Linked DNA regions of Homo sapiens: region 1 is linked to region 2. Evidence: promoter capture Hi-C in human tissues and cell types (Jung and others, 2019). All regions are on one chromosome and are shown on one strand. The core of a region is centred on a gene start or on the middle of the fragment in contact, and the rest is flanking DNA. Distances in the headings are between cores, read along the strand shown. Region 1 overlaps DUSP16 (dual specificity phosphatase 16). Region 2 holds the start of CREBL2 (cAMP responsive element binding protein like 2).

Region 1 (4,979 bases), core at 1,715-4,214, 100 kb after region 2:
CCTGCAGAAAACTAGTTCTCTGAAAAATAAACTTGTTTCTTGGCTTTTACTTATTCACTATGTATCAGTTTATTCTACTTGTCTATTTCTAAGAGCGCCAGATTAGAAGTAAATATATGTGAAAAAAAGGAAAACTATTGAATTTGGGCTTTTATTTTATGCTGACATATGGAAAAGAGAGTAAATGGGTTAATTTAGTAGAAATAAAGATCAACCTGCATGTGAAAAATGCTGTTCTACTATGTCCTTCTCTTTCCCCAGTACAGCCTGAGTAAAAGCAAAAGGGCTCTGCCAGGCTTATTAATTCCACAGCACTCCCTTCTGTCCTGTGATGCAGCACAGAATAACCCTACAGCGATTGCGGGAGAAAACCATAAATGAACCACAGACTTCAGCCCTTTCATTTACAAATGAGGAAAATAACAGAGCTGCTGAGTGACTCTCCCAAGCTCTTGCTGCCCAAGGCCCACATCCACAAGTAATTCCAGAGTCTTCTGGAATTTTGTCAGGAGGCTAGATTGGGAATCAAGGGTGCCCATTTCAGATCAGGCTTATTCTGAAAGGCTCTTTTTGTAATAGCTCTTTCTCAGTCTTTTTGAGAATTTCAGTCATATTCTTCATACTTTATAGAATATAGCAATCTATAAAAATACACTGTATATAAATTGTTTTAAAGCATTAAACTATGTTAGCCAGAAGAGATCATCAAGTAAAAGTCTACTCTGTTTTATGCTGGTGTATAGCTGTGAATAAGGATAGAAGATACCATTTATTAAGAACACAGCAAAGGTCTTCGATTAATGTTTGCTATGGTTAAAGGCCAAATACTCATTTCTTCGTTTTGAGTTGAACTTAACTATTGTAGTTAGACCTACGAGTGAACAAAAATGTATTAGACTCTACACATTTTCAATTTAATAAGGATCTAGATTCTGATGACAGTTCTGTGTAATAAATGTATACTTTTGGTTTAATAGAATTGATTACTGTCCTTCCTCATGGAGGTATGATAGAACCTGATCTTCCTGGTTATGGATTTTGCTCTTTGTGCTATTACCATAAATTCTGTTATCTAGTTTGGTGTTTCTTCTCCTTTGTCTGGAGAAGGGAAATCTTCAGTAATTCCATTTCGAATCCTGTAGAACTTGGTAAATGAGATTGAAATTAATGGATTTCAGTAAAAGTATGCCAATTATTAAGGAACTGGCTGCTCTTGGGTCTAAAAAACTACAGTGACTGAGAGTCACTGAAAACAGACTAAAAATAGATGCTGTATGCACACATACACACACAATGGAATATTCAGCCTTAAAAAAGAAGGAAATCCTACCATTTTGCAACAATATGGGTGAACCTGGAGGACATTATGCTAATTGAAATAAGCCAGACACAGAAAGACAAATACTGCATGGTATCACATGTGGATCTAAAAGAGTCAAACTCATGAAAACAGTAGAACGGTGGTTACCAGGGGCTGGAGGGCTGGGGTAATGGGGAGATGCTGCTTAAAGAGTACAGACTTTCAGTGATATGATGAGTAAGTTCTAGAGACCTATTGTACAGCATGGTGACTACGGTTGACAATAAACGTACCATATACTTCAAATTTGCTGAAAGAGTAGATCTTAAGTGTTCTCACCACAACAAAAAGAGCATGGCTATGTGAGGTAAGGTAGTCATTCCAAGTGTATATGTATATCACATCATCATGCTGTACACCTTAAACAGATAAAATTTTTGTTTGTTAATCATACTTCAATAAAGCTGGGGAAAAAGGTGCTGTTTGCTCACTGGCTGCTGTGTATTTCTGGCTCTGTTTCTGAGTCTCAGTTGGCATGAATTCGTCTAAATTGGATCATCTTTTCTCCGATTGCTATCTGCCAGTGTGGAGAGTCAGTCATGTCTCTTCCCAGCTACCAGTGGCTAAGACACATGCTTGAGATTGTCTTTTGAAACAAACAGACTAGAGAGCCAACTAAAGCTTAAAGATAGTCCTTTGGTTCCCCATCCTGATATTGTGCACAAACCAAACAAAAGCATCCCAGATGACAACAGTGACATCAATCTTCCCTTGCCCCAGGTGGGGCAGCTGTGTAGTCTAGAGAAACACCAGGTCCAGCATATTCTTCAGCCCTTTCACTCACTCAGCCTCTCAATATTTGATGGGTGCCTCCATGGCTGTGCCTTGGACTGGGCTCTCGGGGGTGAAGATATTGGAAAAGCAAAAGGCTTGCCCCTGCCTTTGAGAATGTAGTGGTTAATTTGGGGAAATGCACCTAAAGTGGATGAAAGAAAGAGAAGTATATGATCATTTGCTAAAATGTATGATACAGTGATAAGGGATGATTCAGAGTAGTCTGCAGAAGTCAGGGAAGACTTGATTAGGGCAGTGGAATTTTAATCAAACCTTGAAAGATGAGGAGTAAGATTTGGGTAGGGAGGGTTCTGCGCATTCTGAGGGGGAAAGAACATGATTAAAAATGTCAGGAATGAACATAGATTTGGAGGGGCAGTGAGCAGACCAGAGTGGATTTTTTGTGAAGGAGAGAAATGGGAATTGAGAGGACATGAGATCAAATTATGTAAGCTCTTTAAATCAGAAGGAAGAATTTGTACTTTAAGGTGATGGGTATTGTGAGCTATTGGAGATATGGCTGCAATACCTGTCATCTCTTAGTCACCAGATCTTTCTTCCAACCTCTTCGGTCTGTCTGGTTTTCTGGTCTTCTGCTACCATGAAGTCAGTTGAATGTTATTCCTCCCCCAGGTTGCTCCAGGAGCCTCTTAACTGATCTGTTCACATGCTCTGTCTTGCCACCTTCCAATCCATTGCTCACACTGCAGCCAAAGTTACATTTTTATTTTGTGTTTTTAACTAATTCAGATTACATCACTTCCCAGTTTAATATGCATCAATAATATGCAGTGCTCTTAAGATAAGTTACAAAATTTTTAACTGATTCACAAGGCCCTGCAGTGGCTGGCTTCTGCCTACCTTGCTAACTTCATCCAGTGCCACTTTAAGTCCTCAGTTGTTGTTTTGCCTCAGCTCCTTAGGCCTCCTCCCTGTTGCTCTAAACCTAAGACATCATGCACCCTGGGCCTTCACAGAGGCTCTGTCCTCTGCCCTGGGCTCTTCTCTCTGCTATTTACCTAGTTGTTTTCCTGCTAGATTCAATGTGGTTGTCAAGCCTTCCCTAGCTACCAGGCAAAGTTGGTTTCCATATGCCTTTGGCCACTTACCATAATTAGTTAATTATTCATCTAATTATTTGGTTAAAGTTTATCCCATAAAACTGTCAACTCCAGAGAAGGCTCTCTGTCTTGGTCACCACTGTTCCATTACCTAGCGCTATGTCAAACTCATAGTAGGTGCTATTAAGTGTTTTTTGAACTTATATGTGAAACGCAGTTATCCCTTTCTCCCTCACTGCTCTATGACGTCTCTTGTCAAAATGTGTAGTTGGCCAAAGAGGAGGACTGTACACAGAGTGGAATATACAGAAGTGGTCTTAGGGGAGAGCCTGTGGCTAGATGGCTTAGAAAGCTTTGCGCTTCACATGGATAGCCTGAGAAGTGAGCTGTATAGTGTGATTCATGGACAGTTTACAAGTTAGTCAGATTTTATTCTTGAATAATTCTCCAGACACTAGACTTGTATTCCTTTTTCCTCTTGACTCATCAAGTTTCCCCTATGGATAATCTCATTTCATTATCCATTTTGATGATGATTATAGACATGTCCAGCAGCCACACCATCCTCATCTGGGGTATAATCATAGTTGGTGTCTCATTGGTTTCCTATGGGATGTGCCCTGATTCCCTGAGCCATGGAGATATATTACGGGACTCTCCACACCGGTGTGGAGTCCTGCGCCATTTAGGGGCATCAGAAAAAATTTTCTTTCCCTTTTATGTAAAGTCCTGTGGATACAGCAGAATCATAGTAAGGATTCAGTGTCGCTTTTGGATAACCAAAGTGACACTCGCCAATTTTATCTTTTTTCCTGTAGTAGAAGAAAAAATGTTTTTTTCTTGCCCTGTGCCTCCTCACTCACCCTGAGAGTCTTCTGGGGCATTGTGGTCTAGGAATAGGAAGCAGATTTTGTGCCCCCACCCACACCAACTAGCTTTTGGCTTTGAATGGAATCAGGAAATCCTTCGGAACACCAAAAATATACAAGACTTATGTCCATCAACAGCTATTCATTGTAACAAGGAAGGATTCAATAAACATTTATTGAATTCTAATTATGTGCCAGGCACTATGCTAAATGCTGAGGTAATTACAAAGAATTATGGATAATTCTTATCCATAAGCAGCTCACAATAGCTGGAGAAGTAAGACGGGTCACAACACATACACAGTTATTTCACAGTTACTAGGTCAGTGGTAGGTACTGCCAAATGATTGGTATAAATTTTATAGAGCCTCTAAGCTGGACCATGTCTAGATACGCTGCTCAAGGAAGTTTGTTTTTTTTTTTTCTTTAAACGCAACAGAATTAGGGAAGATAGTATCATGAAACTTTTGTCTTAGTGGTGAGTATGTGTAGGTGTTCAGAGGGTTTGAGTGTAAAATGTATTTTGTTGATCCTGGTAAAAAAATTTTGGGACCATACTGCTATAGAAGAGGTGTAACTTGTGCTTGCCTGTGGTTTAGAAGGAAATACAAAATGGATTGGAAAGGTTGACTTTTCAAAAGCCTAAAGGCGGGAAAGCACAGATGTGTTAGGAAAATAGTAGGGAGACTCTGTGACTCTGGCTCTCCTACCTACAGAGCTTGTTAATTCTGTTCAGCCAAGTGGTAGATTCTGGCTGTATTCCTTTTGATGGGTTATTCTGGTTGCAGTCTTTAGAACAATCTTTGTTTCAGGACGTTTAAGAGGAGTTTTTCTGGGCATAGTTATGTATTGCCAATTTAAAAGATCAGCAGAATAGTTACCAGTCTACATCTTCTGAGAACTCTTCCTTCTTGA
Region 2 (5,139 bases), core at 2,602-5,101:
AGGTCAGGAGACTGAGACCATCCTGGCCAACCTAGTGAAGCCCCAGCTCTACTAAAAATACAAAAATTAGCTGGGCATGGTGGCACACACCTGTAATCCCCACTCAGAGGCTGAGACAGGAGAATTGCTTGAACCAGGGAGTCAGAGGTTGCAGTGAGCCAAGATCGCACCATTGCACTACAACCTGGTGACAGAGCAAGACTCCGTCTCAAAGAAAAAAAAAAAAAGAAGGTTGATATTTTAGACATCAATGGAATGGGGACTGTTTAAAAGGGAATACCTTACACAGATCACCTGAGGTCAGGAGTTCCAGACCAGCCTGGCCAACATGATGAAACCCTGTCTCTGTTAAAAAAAAAAAAAAATGCAAAAAGTTGGCCAGGTGCAGTGCTCATGCCTGTAATCTCAGCACTCTGGGAGGCCGAGGTGGGCGGATCACTTGAGGCCAGGAGTTCGAGACCAGCCTGGCCAACATGGCAAAACCCTGTCAGCCTGGCCAACATGGCAGGCTCTAATAAACCCTATCTCTAAGAAAAATACAAAAATTAATCGGTTGTGGTGGCATGCACCTGTAATCCCAGCTACTCAGGAGGCTGACGCAGGAGAATCACTTGAACCCGGGAGGCGGAGTTTATAGTGAGCCAAGACTGCACCACTGCATCAAGCCTGGGCGACTGAGCAAGACCCTGTCTCAAAAAAAAATTAGCCGGACATGGTGGCCCATGCCTGTAATCACACCTACTCGGGAGACTGGGGCTGGAGAATCGCTTAAATCCAGGAGGTAGAGATTGCAGTGAGCTGAGATCGTGCCACTGCACTCCAGCCTGGGGGACAGAGAGAGACTCCATCTCAAAAAAAAAAAAAAAAAACTAATGCCCTACAAATCTTACTATGGCAAAACTGGAAGAGTCTACAATGTTACCCAGCATTCTGTTGGCATTGTTGTAAACAAAAAAGGGAAAGATTCTTGCCAAGAGAATTAATGTGTATATTGAGCATATTAAGTACTCTTAAGAGCTGACAGCTTCCAGAAACGTGTGAAGGAAAATGATCAGAAAAAAAAGCCAGTGAGACCCTCATCTCTGCAAAAAATTAGCTAGGAATGGATGTGCATTCCTGTAGTCCCAGCCACTTGGGAGGCTGAGGTGGAGGATTGCTTTGAGCCCAGGAGTTCGAGGCTGCAGTGAGTTGTGATCACACCAACGCACCCCAGCCTGGGCAACAGTGCAAGACCCTATTTCAAAAAAAAAAAAAAAAAAGGAAACTAAATAAGAAAGGTACCTGGGTTCAATTGAAGCACCAGCCTACTCCACCAGTGGAAAACAGCCTGAGCTACTAGAACTTATTCCCTATGAATTCGTGGCATAATAGGGGTAAAAAAGACAAAAGGTGTAAAAACGTTTATCTTCATTGAGTAGAAGTGTGATGTCCTGGCCGGGCGCAGTGGCTCACACCTGTATTCCTAGCACTTTGGGAGGCTGAGGTGGGCGGATCACCTGAGGTCACTCGAGTTTGAGACCAGCCTGATCAACATGGTGAAACCCTGTCTCTACGAAAAATAAAAATTTAGCTGGATGTGGTGGCACACGCCTGTAGTCCCAGCTACTCAGGAGGCTGAGGCAGGAGAATTGCTTGAACCCAAGAGCAATTCTCGGCAGTGAGCCGAGATCGTGCCACTGTACTCCAGCCTGGGCGATACAGCGGAGACTCCGTCTCAAAAAAAAAAAAAAAAAAAAGAAAAAAAAGAAAAAAGAAAGAAGTGTGATGTCCCCTCCCCAAAGAAATATTCAAAGCAAAAAAAAAAAAAAATTACTTGCTGATTTTTCTGGAAAACTTTTAGAACGCTACCCTTCTGTCTTGGAAATACCACTTCCCCAATATCATACCCCACGAATGTTACTATAGTAAAACTGAAGAGTCTACAATGTTATCCCGCATTCTGTTGCATTGTTGTAAACAAACAAGGGCAAGATTCTTGTCAAGGGAATTAATGTGTGTACTGAGCATATTAAGCACTCTTATGAGCTGATAGCTTCCTGAAACTCGCCCCCCTTCTGTCTTGGAAATACCACTTCCTATTAAGAGGGGTTTACTACTTCACAAGCAATCCGTTCCTCTAGGTGAGTAACAATTCCAGAGTACTGCACTGGGCTTTCCCTTCCATCTGTCACTTCCTCACAGCCTTCTACATGAAGAGGAAGAGAAAACAAGAAGGAAAGAATAAAACAAGGAACACAGAGAAGTTGGAAATTTTTTGAATCTCTCTGAGGATATGTGAAACAAAAACTGCAGCAGCAGCAAAAAAAGACACCCAAACAAAGGACAAAGCTATCGTAAAGAGTATGCCAAAGACTGTGAAACAGAAGACGCTGAGAAGCACAAAGAAGGACGGTTTTTACTTTAAAAACTGGCAAATTTTAGAAGTCTGATTCCTTAAAATAAAAAAGTCCAAATCCAAAACAACCTGAAACATCAATAAACAAATCTTTGACCATCCCTATCTTCAGGAAATAAAACTAAACAACACTAATGTGGGTAGATGTAAAGAGAGAAAGGCGGCCAGGCGCGGTGGCTCACGCCTGTAATCCCAGCACTTTGGGAGGCCGAGGCGAGCGGACACCTAAGATTGGGAGTTCGAGACCAGCCTGACCAACATGGAGAAACCCCATCTCTACCAAAAATACAAAATTAGCCGGGCATGGTGGTGCATGCCTGTAATCCCAGCTGCTCGGGAGGCTGAGGCAGGAGAATCGCTTGAACCCGGGAGGCGGAGGTTGTGGTGAGCCGAGATCGCGCCATTGCACTCCAGCCTGGGCGACAAGAGCGAAACTCCGTCTCAATTAATAAATAAAGACAAAAAGGCTATACATAGATAAACTATTTGGATTAACCAATAATGAACATTATCTATTATTTTATAATCATAAAGTAAGTGATTTGGACAGGGAAATTGGATGGTGATGGGCTATTAAAGTTAACAAGAGGAAAATCAGTATTTTTTTAGAGAAGGCTTTCTAGTGGAGGTTAAACTCCACACTGGCCAAATAGCAACAGGAGCTTAGCGGTGTTCCAACCAACCACAGGAAATAGCTCAGAGGGGGAGTGAACTGATTATATGAATGGGGCATTGAGTAAGGGAGCCTGAGAGAAGGGGAATCGTCAAGGGGAATAAGGCTGGTTCAGCGTGCACTAAAGTCTCCAAACTGGAGAGAGGAGGCAGCAAAAAAGTGCAAGAAGAAAAAGTACAGTAGTTTCTTATCTCGACAGGCAAGTTAAGGACTAGGGGTTGCACTACCTGGAAAGCTAGCAAACGCCCTGGGAGTGAAAAATTTCCAGAGAGGGCCCTTCCTGGAAAAACGCAGCCCCGGTGTTCCCTGATTTCCTGGCTGGGTACCATCGGGCAGTGGACTGGAGAGGCGCAGGGATGTTTTAGGCAGGTGTCTCTTGGGTGTTGGCGTGGACTACATAGCGGAGGTTCAGCCGCGGGACTAGCATTGAGCGACAAGAAGGCGGCGGCGCGTGCAAACCACAAGACTTACCTTACTGTCATCCATCGCGGCAGACAGGCCGGCCTGGCCAGGCACTCCCTCCCGGAGCCCTCCCCCGGCTCAGCCGGCCTGGCCCGGCCCCCGCCCCGAGGAAGAAGGGGATATGGTTCTGGCTGCCTCCTCCTCTCGCCTAACAGTTCGCTTCCCTGATGCCAGAGTCACGGGGACGAGGGACCAGTTCAGGAATGGCAGAGCGGACCCTGGAGGCGGCCCCAAACGCCTCCCTTCGCCGCCGCCGCCTCCTCCTCCCCCTCCATGACAGTCTCTGGGTGTTTACAGACGCTCTGGAGAGCCGCCGAGACCGGAGGGTGGGCGGGAGCGCTGCACACGGAATGGCCCCTTCGGCTGCCGTAGCACCGCGGCATTCTGGGAATTGTGATTTTTCTTATCACAGTCTCTGCGCTACTGACTGGAAAAAAAACTACGATGTCCACATAGCCTCATTAAGGGGCAGCTGTTTTCCTTTTGCCTACTAGCTAGCGCTGAGGAGGCGGGGCTGGGCTGGAGGCCCAAAGTGCGCCTGACCTGAGGTTTTGGCTCCTAAGTGCCAGGGCCTGGAATGGCGGGGACGGGAGTTTGGTGCTCTGCGGAGGCAGCCCTGAAGGCGGGGTGCCGGAAGCAGGCCCTCCTCTGGGACGCTGAGGAAACCCTAAAGGTTCTTTATTTAAAAAAAAACGAAAAACAAAAACTAAGTATGTAAAATAGTGCAGCTACTTTGGGAAGAAATTTGGCAGTTCTTCAGAATATTGGCCACTCCCATACCCAAGAGAAATTAAAACGAGTGACTACACAAAAACTTGTATATAAATGTTCTTTCCTAGCAGCATTATTCATAATAGTCAAAAAGTGGAAACAACGCAAATGTCCTTTACTGGATGAATGGATAAACCAGTGTGGACTATACAAATTAAGAAATACTGGCCAGGGGTGGTGGGTCACGCCTGTAATCCCAGCACGTTGGGAGGCCGAGGCGGGAGGATTGCTTTAGCCCAAGAGTTCGAGACCAGCCTGGGCAACATAGCAAAACCTGTCTCTACAAAAAAATACAAAAATTAGTCGAGTGTGGTGGCACATGCCTGTAATCCCAGTTACTGGGGAGGCTGACATGAGAGGATCACTTGGGCCTGGGAGGCAGAGGCTGCAATAAGCCAAGATTGTACCACTGCACTCCAGCCTGGGCGACAGAGCCAGACACTGTATTTAAAAAAAAAAAAAAGAAGAAGAAGAATGAAAGAAGGAAGAAGAACGATGAAGGAAGAAGAAGGAGAAGAAGGAAGAAGAAAGAAGAAGGAAGAAGACCCATATAGTAAGATGCAGTCTCTACAAAAAAAATTAAAAATTAGTTGGGTGTGTTACAAAAAATTTAAAAATTACTTGGGTGTGGTGGTGGTGCTTGTAGTCCTAGCCACTCGGGAGGCCCAGGTGGGAGGATCGTTTGAGCCCTGGAGTTGGAGGCTGAAGTGAGCTGTGATCACGGCACTCCAGCCTGGGCAACAGAGCAAGACTCTGTCTCAAAAAAAAAGGAAAGAAATATTATTCAGCAATGAAAAAAAATGAAGGGATATACACACTTCAATATGTCTGAACCTTG

What was found. Contacts are between HindIII fragments. The study calls those that stand out against the background at their distance.
Region 1: a fragment that was not itself captured here is called in contact with the fragment with the promoter of CREBL2 in region 2 in 4 of the 25 tissues and cell types used here (adrenal gland, hippocampus, mesendoderm cells and 1 more).

The regions. Positions count from the first base shown.
Region 1 is chr12:12,508,994-12,513,972 of GRCh38, reverse strand. The region is part of intron 3 of DUSP16 (dual specificity phosphatase 16); the gene reads left to right. Among named protein-coding and RNA genes, the nearest start is that of DUSP16, 51 kb to the left of the region's middle. The HindIII fragment of the contact is 5,128 bases long and covers 401-4,979 here.
Region 2 is chr12:12,610,588-12,615,726 of GRCh38, reverse strand. It overlaps CREBL2 (cAMP responsive element binding protein like 2), which reads right to left and starts at 3,851. Exons shown (of 4, transcript NM_001310.4): 1 at 3,540-3,851. The coding sequence starts at 3,554. It also overlaps the pseudogene RPL21P136. RefSeq lists a silencer at 3,498-3,797 and enhancers at 3,958-4,007, 4,058-4,137, 3,731-4,482. The HindIII fragment of the contact is 23,854 bases long and covers 1-5,139 here.